Linked DNA regions of Homo sapiens: region 1 is linked to region 2. The links are contacts of gene promoters, found by promoter capture Hi-C in blood cells and fetal thymus (Javierre and others, 2016). All regions are on one chromosome and are shown on one strand. The core of a region is centred on a gene start or on the middle of the fragment in contact, and the rest is flanking DNA. Distances in the headings are between cores, read along the strand shown. Region 1 overlaps MAT2B (methionine adenosyltransferase 2 non-catalytic beta subunit). Region 2 holds the start of TAF7 (TATA-box binding protein associated factor 7).

Region 1 (4,928 bases), core at 2,170-4,669, about 22 Mb before region 2:
CCCATGCCTTTAATCCCAGCACTTTGCGAGGCCAAGGCAGGTGGATCACTTGAGCCCAGGAGTTCGAGACCAGCCTAGGCAACATGGTGAAAACCCGTCCTTCCAAAAAAAAAAAAAAAAAAAAAAAAGCAAAAATTAGCTGAGCTACAGGTGGTGCATGCCTGTAGTCCTAGCTACTTGGGAGGCTGGGGTGGGAGGATCACGAGCCTGGGAGGCCAAGGCTGTAATAAGCAGAGATCATGACATGCACTCCAGTCTGGGGGACAGAGTGAGACCCTGTTTCAAAAAAAAAATTTTTTTAATTAAAAAAGTTATAATAATCTTACCCAAGGAAAGGAACACAAGATGATATGCAAGGAATTATGTAGATTTATATTTCCTATGTTAACAGAAAATCCTATTTTTATGATTGATAATACCCAAATGAGTTAGTAAACAGCAACTTTTTTTATACTTTTGCTCCAAGTACCTAAATAGTAAATAACAACATTACATTCTTCAGTTTATAAGACTTTACAATTTGTCTTGCTTCTATAGATACGACTGAAGGTGCTCTTTGAGTCTCTAGAGAGAAACGTGTTTTAAGTTTACCTATTTTAAGGCCTGATTAGTATTTGCGTCAAATCTGCCAATATATTTACAAGCTGACATTTCTGGTCTTCAGATTTTAATCCCAAATGTTCTTTCAAGTCTCAATAATTTATCATATTTTGATGGACCCAAGGTAGAGAATTAATCAACATTTCAAAGGAATATACGAGGAGGAAAAAAAACTTGGTCCTTACAACACTTAAATGCTTTCTAAGTTTAACCAAATTGGTAAATGTTCCTTAGTTAACCCAAAATTTACCTACATAGAAGAGTTAAAATTGGCCAGGTGCAGTGGTTCATGCCTGTAATCGCAGCACTTTGGGAGGCCAAGCTGGGCAGATCACCTGAGGTCAGGAGTTCAAGACCAGCCTGGCCAACATGGTGAAACCCCATCTCTTCTAAAAATACAAAAAAATTAGCCAGGCGTGGTTGCAGGTGCCTGTAATCCCAGCTACTCGGGAGGCGAGGCGGGAGAATTGCTTGAACCCAGGAGGCGGAGGTTGCAATGAGCCAAGATGGCACCACTGCACTCCAGCCTGGGTAACAAGAGCAAGACTACATCTCAAAAAAAAAAAAAAAAAAGCTAAAACTAATAAACGCAAAGGATAAGAAAAAATATTTTAAGCTCATCTGTGTTGCTACTGTGAAACAAATAAATTATTACACACAGAAATGAAAAAGAACCACTATTTAGGAAAAAATTTAAATTCTATGTTTCCAAGCATAGTTCCAAAAATGTCCCTTCTTCCCAAGATGGGTAACACCAAGTTTCCAACCAGGATCTTGAATAAAGTCAACTTTTACTATTAAAAACAAACCAGTTATTTTAACTCAAGAGTTGTTATAATCACCTAATTCTGGGCTGTCAAAATCTTTAAATACATATACAATAACCAAAGACCTTTTAAAGCCCTTAGCTCAATTAAATTACTTAGCCGAATACATACATTTTTTTTTAAAAGACACCAAAATCAAGTATTTCTAGCAATCAAAAACGTAAAATGAAAAGACTAACAGGGAAAGATAGTATAAAGGTAAATTCTTAGGATTATTTTTCCTTAGTTCAACCAATTTCAAGACATTTTAAAAGTTGAAAGCAATTTCATTCAGGCTGTGTTGCAAAACTTGGCTCTAAACCAACTGATCTATGAAAACAAGGATTTCAGCCAACAAAATATTTTCTTTGAAATTTGGCAAGAAAACAGCTCTACAAAGATTGAACTGTAAAGAGGAGAAAACATGCCAAGTCTAGTACAGATACAGTCAGAGAAAACAATTTACACAGGATAAATACGGTAAAGATTCCTGAAAAAATACTCTAAAAGAGAGATAATTTGGTTTCTTCTGAGTTCCTCACTTTTTACTTCACTCTACGGAAGCAAAGGAACAGGTAACAGTTCCTAAGGTCAGTGGTTCTCGTGCTTCAGTGTGGATCAGAATCACCTGGAGGGCTTTTAGATCACAAAGGTCTGGGGTGGGGCTTGATAATTTGCATTCCCAACAAGTTCCAACAAGTGATGCTGATCATCGTGATTTGGAGACCGCACTTAGAGGACCAGTGTACTCTCGAACTCCAGGAAAGTTCAAAGCTTTCATAACAATCCGTTTCTCTTACACAAGGAAAACAAAAAGTGCCATCTACCTTTCTCAAAATGACAACAGTATCTTTCCCCCTTAAAAAAGAAAACTTGAAATAGAAGCCAAAGCATTATACAATCCACAAAAGTTACTAAACAATGAATTAAGATCTGTGTACTTCACTGACTCTGTGAAGTACAGTTTCATTTTAACATCTGTTAAATGAATTTAAAAAAAATCTTATGAATCGTCACAGTTTTGCAGTAGTTTTTGCTAACTTAATGCAACTTAAGAGCCCAGATGATCTTCTTTTAATTAAGAGCTTCTTGGAGTTGATGCAGTATTAAGTATAGAGAAGAACAAGGCTCTTTAGGGAATATAATACCTTAACGTAAAAAAGGAAGTGGAGTTGTATGAGAAAATGCAACTTTATATCCTTATACCCCTGGGTTACTATGTAAGGCCTCCAGTACGCCCGGCCTATAACATGTTAATTTTCAAATAAAATGTTGTGCAGTATCATTTCCATTTCAGTAAATGCTTGCACTTCAGATCGTCACTCTTAATAAAAATCTTGAGCACTGACACCTGACTGCTGGGTACTGTACACTGTTTCATATTTTTTTCTAGGTAATTTTAGGTAATCTAAGCTACTCGGGAGGCTGAGGCAGGAGAATCGCTCGAACCCAGGAGGCGGAGGTCGTAGTGAGCCGAGATCGCACAACTGCACTCCAGCCTGGGGGACACGAGCTAGACTTCATCTCAAAAAAACAAACAAACAAAAAAACCAAAAAAAAGAAAACTAACGTGTTATATAAGTATACAATCATAGCTGTTTTTGTTTTTTTAATAGCAGTTTGAGGCCGGGTGCCAGGGCTCACGCCTGTAATCCCAGCACTTTGGGAGGCCAAGGTGGACCAACCACTTGAGGTCAGGGGTTCAAAACCAGCCTGGCCAACATGGTGAAACGCTGTCTCTACCAAAAATAGAAAAACTAGTCGGGCATGGTGGTGGGCGCCTATAATCTCAGCTACTTGGGAGGCTGAGGCAGGAGAATCGCTTGAACCCTGGAGGCAGAGGTTGCAGTGAGCAGAGATTGAGCCACTGCACTTCAGACGGGGTGAAAGAGCAAGAGGAAAAAAAAGAAAACAAAAAAACCCAGCAGCTTGTTAGAAGAGATATTATTTCCAAAGAGAGTAACAAGAAGTCCAGTGTTAAATGTTTTGTCTATAGTAAAAGAGAAAAAGCTGGAACCAGAACCTGAGTCTTGCTTCTCTGGTCAAGTCAAATACACTGCATTTTGTCTCAATCCTGTGAACTAATATTTGGTTTCATGAATGATTAAAGTTTTATCTGTTCTGCCACAAATTGGTGTTTAGAAGTTATTCTATCTCTATTGATCTAATTCCTCATTGGTAAATGGGGAAGGCATTTAGACAAAATGACTAAGGCTCTTTCAGCTTTAAAGTTCTATATTTCTAACATTTTCCATATTATCCCTACCACGAGGAGTCCGAATAGTTTCGTTTACTTAAATAAGGTAACTTTTCCTCTGAATATGCATTACTCCGAAATTTAAAATATGCCAAACAAATATCTCTGTTTTTGAGCTTCTATATAAGCAATACTCTGCCTTTTACACTGTTTTGTTGAGGCTTTTTGGTTCGTTCTTTAGAAAAAGAAATATCCCTCTAAAAACTACTTTGGACCTGCACTCCATAAATTATTTTAGTTGTGCACAAGGAAGAAATGTCTAAACACTTTAAGAAAGTCAGAATGAAAGAATAAAATGCTATCTAGTTCACTCAAGGCACAATAAAGAGTTGATAATACTTTGCCTGAAGTCTACTTTTTCTCAATTTTTATTATATGGGGGAAAGTAGATCTAATATCAGTTTAAGTTACTCTAAACGTATCTGCCTCTTATTGTCTAAACTCTGAAGTACGGAATTCAATCACTCCAAGGGACCAGATTTATGGACACCAAAAAAACATTTCTTGAAAAATTAAGTACATATAAATAAATATTCTTATTATCGTATCTAATCGAATGATACCAAATTGTATAGGTAATGGGAGATACATGGCTCCTTCCAAATGGTCCAACACAGTACTCTGGGACAGTGATTTCTACTTTAGCACACCTGCATTAATGTCTACTAAAAATGTTCTAGAAAAGTAAAGAATGGAATACTATTAGTATGTGGTTTTCCCAAATTTCAGTGGTAAATACCTTGTCGTTTTTGGAAACTTTAAAACTTGGCACAGTTCCATGTTTAATTTTTTAATTCCCCAGAAACAGACCCTTAAGGTAAACATTACTGGGCTTTACTTTTTAAGATTCTCTGACTACTTAGGTGGGATTGGTCTAACTTCTACTGCGACGCTACTGTGCTCCACAGACAGTATTACTAACAACAACCACTCCAGGATGCTTCTCTAACGTTAACTATGAGACAGTTCTCGTTCTCATGAGTCAGTAAGCTTTAATTCTACAGGTTTTGAGAGCAGTAAGTCTGTGCCAAGCTCTTCGTTGTTTCATTTTTAATGAAGGAAAACACGAAAAGCTATTTTCATTTTTATACTGAACTTCTTTTTGTGAAAGTAGATTAAGCTTTATATGCACACGTACACATACAAATGCATACATATAAATGTAAACGTATGTAACATGCACTCAGCACGGTCTGGAGGACCTAGGAACATAGAGGTTTAATAGACCATTTATCCTAACTTTACCCTCAAAGAACCAAAGTGAT
Region 2 (5,402 bases), core at 1,019-3,518:
GCCTCCCAAAGTGCTGGTATTACAGGCATGAGCCACTGCACCCAGCAGATTATCTTAATGTCTACTGATAAATCCAATTTAAAAAAATATTTAGGGTCAATATAATTTCCTCCCCTAAAACAGCATATAGAAAATGTGTTAAACTCAAAAGCAGAAAATGTATTTCAGGACTGAAGGAGCTAGATACATTAAGAAAACCTCAGTTAATCCTTTTAACTATGTCTGGCAATATTCCATGTAAAGAAAGGTTTAGAAACTAAAATACACAGTAATTTTGGAAAATGAAAAATTGCATACAATTTATCTCAAGTTACCTTCTATGATAAGAATATTTGAGCATCATAAAACTCATAGGGAAGATGCTGAGTAATATTTGGATTATTTTCATGTATAATGACCTCACATTGTATATGGTTAAACAAAACACAGCCAGGCGAGGTGGCTCAAGCCTGTAACAGAAAAAACTTCATCTTTGAAAAAGAGGAAATAGATCATTCTGGAAATTACAAGTAAGTCAGCTAACATTCTTCAACACATTATAAGCAAAGAGAAATAATTTACCGTTATCTGGAAGGGCATACTTTCTCTTTTAAAATTAACATTAAAAACCAAACTAACGTCAGGTCATTTTAATTTCCTCCCACAACAGTATCTCATTCTAGCTAAACCACATTCACACACACTATTAGTAAACCTCCCCACCTCATAACAATTAGAATTGTCCTTGACTAGAAAGGAAATGTATGTAAAGTGGCTCTATCTCATTTTAAAATGACAAAGAATGTATTTTCTCTCAGAAATCACTACAGGATTTGAGACTATGATCTTTCTAGACAGATAAGTTTTTTCATTCAATTAGCAAATATTTTTTGTGTATCTCCCACATTCTGGTACTAGGCACTGGGACACAATGACCAGGATAGAAGAAGATCACTATCATGGAGCTTTCAATCATACAAGAATAAAGTGAATTTTGGAAATGTTAATTACATCTTAAGAGAATTCTCTTAAATTTAGGGGCAATTGTTAATATTTTAGAGGATAGAAATGAAATATTAATGGCCTTGATGCTCTCCCAGATATTTTAAAAATAAATGGAAATAAATAGAAATAAGTACCAACTGTTACCCAGTTATGTTAAAATACTAAAAATATGTGTTGATGAATACCTGACTATTGATAGAAAAGACAAGCAGAAAACAGCAAAATAGTAGAGGTGGAGTTAAAAAAAATGTCAAAGTAATTTAAAATTACTTGTACATGAGAGACAGGAAACAATACTTCAATTATATCTACTTTAACCAGATGCTCAGTCTATCAGACAATTCTGTCCAAAAGAACACTTCCTTCTCTGTTTACATTTACATCTAAATCAAGCACATAAAAAGGAATCACCCTTGTTTCCCCAGAAGTATTATAGAACACAAGTAAAACCAGAGGCACAATTCCCCTACAGGGAATTATATTTAAAAATACAGACTTTGGGCCATGCGCGCTGGCTCACACCTATAATCCTAGTACTTTGGGAGGCCAAGACAGGCAGATCACCTCAGGTCAGGAGTTCGAGACCAGCCTGGCCAACATGGTGAAACCCCTTCTCTACTAAAAATACAAAACTTAGGTGGGGTAGTGGAACGTGCCTGTAATCCCAACTACTTAAGAGGCTGAAGCAGGAGAATCGCTTGAACCCCAGAGGTGGAGGTTGCAGTCAGCCAATATTGTGCCACTGCACTCTAGCCTGGGTGACAGCCTGAGACTCCATCTCCAAAACAAACAAACAAACATATATATAGAGAGAGACTTATATAGTAAGCTGCATGTCCTCCTCACTCCATTGATTTGGGTACTTTGAAATCCATTGTATAGTAGCTACACATTCTTGTATTGGCACCAGATAGGCTAGACTCTAGGGAACATCCGAGATGTTTCCAGAAGCAAAGACGCTTACTGCAAGGCGTCCCCCATCTCCCGGAATCACCCGGAAGTCTAGAAGCCATCCGGCCCCACAGCGATCCCGTAAAAGTGCTGGCTTAGCGGGGGACGAATCTGTGTCTTTCTTGGAACTTCCAAGCTCTAAATAGTTTGAAACCAACAGCTCTTCCGAAACACTGTCATTTCCATCCCGGAAAAACAAGTTCTCGCGAAAAGATGAGTTTCACGCTGGGCAGCGTAATTGCGCTATTGCGCCTGCGCTAGCTGGGGCTCCGCCCTTCCGCCCGGAGGGGCTGTCACTCACAGCCGCCTCCCGCCCCGCGTCGCGACGTAGCACTTCCGTTTTTGCTGGGTAGGCGACCCGGACGGAGGGCCGGCGAGGTGCGGGGTCTGGTGATGCGAGCTGCGCCTCTCGGCAAGATTTCGCGCTGCCCATCCCGGGCCCTTTCATCAGTAATCGGTAGTGGATCACTCTGCCAAGCGGCAGGAAGAATTAAGGAAACGACAAGGAGACGCTCGGCTCTCTCCCGCTTGGCTCCTTGCGGCCTCCTCTTCCCTTCGCTCCGGCCCGGTGAAACTGAACTTATAATCGTCACTGGATTGTAAGTACCCGAGGCGAAGAGAGCTCGCTGAGCCCTGATTTTTTGAGTGTCTTTGTTCCGGGAGAGTTTGTGAGTTGAAAGTATCTCTGCTGGGCTTTCTGGGCCGAAAACCGTTCCGGGGGAGCCGCCATTTGCTTTCCTGTTCCCTAGCTAGCTAGCTAGCTCTCTCCGCGTTGTCCGGCAGCGGCACCTAGAGGTTGGGACTTGGCATTGCATCTGATTTAATGAACTTAAGTCTGTGAATAAGCCTTTGTGTTAACGACTGGTATTCGGTCACAGCATATTTAGAGAAAAGACTTGGAGCTTAAATAAAAACTAAGGCAAAATAGACGCTTAGCTGCTGATCTACAGAGAACTTCTTGTAATTAAAAGATTTCAATTCATAGCAAACTGGTGTTTTAAACTATTGCAGTAGCTGGAACTTTTTAGTGTAACCAGCATTTATTGGAGAAGTGAATCACAAGGAAATAAAGATGAGTAAAAGCAAAGATGATGCTCCTCACGAACTGGAGAGCCAGTTTATCTTACGTCTGCCTCCAGAATATGCCTCTACTGTGAGAAGGGCAGTACAGTCTGGTCATGTCAACCTCAAGGACAGACTGACAATTGAGTTACATCCTGATGGGCGTCATGGAATCGTCAGAGTGGACCGTGTTCCATTGGCCTCAAAATTAGTAGACCTGCCCTGTGTTATGGAAAGCTTGAAAACCATTGATAAAAAAACTTTTTACAAGACAGCTGATATCTGTCAGATGCTTGTATCCACAGTTGATGGTGATCTCTATCCTCCTGTGGAGGAGCCAGTTGCTAGCACTGATCCTAAAGCAAGCAAGAAAAAGGATAAGGACAAAGAGAAAAAGTTTATCTGGAACCACGGAATTACTCTGCCTCTAAAGAATGTCAGGAAGAGAAGGTTCCGGAAGACAGCAAAGAAGAAATATATTGAATCTCCAGATGTTGAAAAAGAAGTGAAACGATTGCTGAGTACAGATGCTGAAGCTGTTAGTACTCGGTGGGAAATAATTGCCGAAGATGAAACAAAGGAGGCAGAAAATCAAGGCCTGGATATCTCTTCTCCAGGAATGTCTGGTCACAGGCAGGGCCATGACTCATTAGAACATGATGAGCTTCGGGAGATATTCAATGACCTCAGCAGCAGCAGTGAGGATGAAGATGAGACCCAGCATCAAGATGAAGAAGATATAAACATCATTGACACGGAGGAAGATCTGGAGAGACAGCTACAGGACAAGCTAAATGAATCAGATGAACAGCACCAGGAAAATGAAGGAACCAATCAGCTGGTTATGGGAATTCAGAAGCAGATTGACAACATGAAAGGCAAGCTCCAAGAGACCCAGGACAGGGCAAAACGACAAGAGGATCTCATCATGAAAGTGGAAAATCTGGCTCTCAAGAACAGATTTCAGGCTGTACTGGATGAGCTCAAACAAAAGGAAGACCGAGAAAAGGAGCAACTCAGCTCTTTGCAAGAGGAGCTAGAATCACTCCTAGAGAAGTAAAAAGAACTGATATTTAATTTCAGTCTTCAGACTGGTCAGCATTAGAAAATTCTTGGCTTTATTGTACTGGGTATTAAGACCTTGCTCTTCCTAGTCCTTTTAATGCTGTGTGTTCTGTTAAGTTCTTTCATTTGTTTGTAATTTTGTTTTTCAGCAAATTTATATTGTTTTGCTAGGTGTTCATCCTATAAGAAGCAGGATTGTATAGGCAGAAAAATGATTGTAGGAAAGTTGCAGGATTAGCGGAATGTATGGTTCAACCTTAATTATAGCTTCATTGCAGGACTTTACTGTTTCTCCATTTTCTAGAAGCTGCTGTTGCTGCTTTGTGATGACGTGAGATCAATAAGAAGAACCTAGTCTAGAGACAATGATGCTAGTTTGCATATGTTTTCCTATGCAATAATTGTTTTCCCAGTTATTCAAAGCAGCTTTCTATATGTAGAGATGCAAATTATTAAGTTGTTTCCAATACAATAAATAAAAGCATCTGTTTTTCACTTTATAGTGTATCTTGTTCTTTCATGGTTGGTGGGAGTCAGGTCCTCTTGTGAGGTGGTTTTATGGTGGAGTTTAGTGACTAAGCAATTTGATCCCGTTCTGCAGGTAGAGGCAGTAGGGTTTATGAAAAAAAGGAACACAGCAGGGGTAAAGAAATTGGGAATGGTCATGTTTGCATCATATTAAGATTCCAATTCTATTTGATCTACTTGAAAGCTGGGAAACATTAGATACAGAGCTTTCTTAAAGTACCCTAATTTTTGTAGATGAAGGCCTTTGTGCCTTTTTTAAAAAGCGCTAAATCTACCTGCATAAAATGTTGGAAACAAAGCAGTGGTTATCAAGTGCAGTCCAATGAACCATTCCATTGGTTTGGATTAATATTTCTAATTTTCTTCAGTTGAGTTCCTATAATTAATATTCTGAGAACTGAGGTCATTTATCAATGTCATTTCATCAAAATTGCTCATAAAGGAAGTTGGTACCAAATTTCTCATGCTCTAAAGATAATCTAATGCCTCACAACATAAGCTATTTTTGAAAAATCAGTTACTGATAAAAGAGGCAGAGTTGTATGCAATTTGTTTGACAGGTTGGTTTATGAGAAGCTTGGGTTTGAAAATATTTAAAGTTTTTTTTTTTGAGACGGAGTCTCGCTGTGTCACCCAGGCTGGAGTGCAGTGGCACCATCTCGGCTCACTGCAAGCCCCGCCTCCTGGGTTCACACCATTCTCCTGCCTCAGCCTCCTGAGTAGCTGGGACTACTCAGGTGCCCGCCACCATGCCCAGCTAATTTTTTTGTGTATTTTTAGTAGAGACGGGGTTTCACTGTGTTAGCCAGGAT

The links. The method cuts DNA at HindIII sites, captures the fragments that hold promoters and counts their contacts. A CHiCAGO score of 5 or more calls a contact.
Region 1: a contact is called between a fragment that was not itself captured here and the fragment with the promoter of TAF7 in region 2, in 1 of 17 cell types (naive CD8 T cells). The highest score is 5.1, in naive CD8 T cells.

Annotation. Positions count from the first base shown.
Region 1 is chr5:163,506,640-163,511,567 of GRCh38, reverse strand. The region is part of intron 1 of MAT2B (methionine adenosyltransferase 2 non-catalytic beta subunit); the gene reads right to left. Among named protein-coding and RNA genes, the nearest start is that of MAT2B, 3.5 kb to the right of the region's middle. The HindIII fragment of the contact is 2,473 bases long and covers 2,183-4,655 here.
Region 2 is chr5:141,317,650-141,323,051 of GRCh38, reverse strand. TAF7 (TATA-box binding protein associated factor 7) reads left to right here and starts at 2,268. Exons shown (of 1, transcript NM_005642.3): 1 at 2,268-4,562. The coding sequence starts at 3,008. The coding sequence ends at 4,057. RefSeq lists enhancers at 1,740-1,889, 1,900-1,959, 2,540-2,739. The HindIII fragment of the contact is 5,333 bases long and covers 1-3,236 here.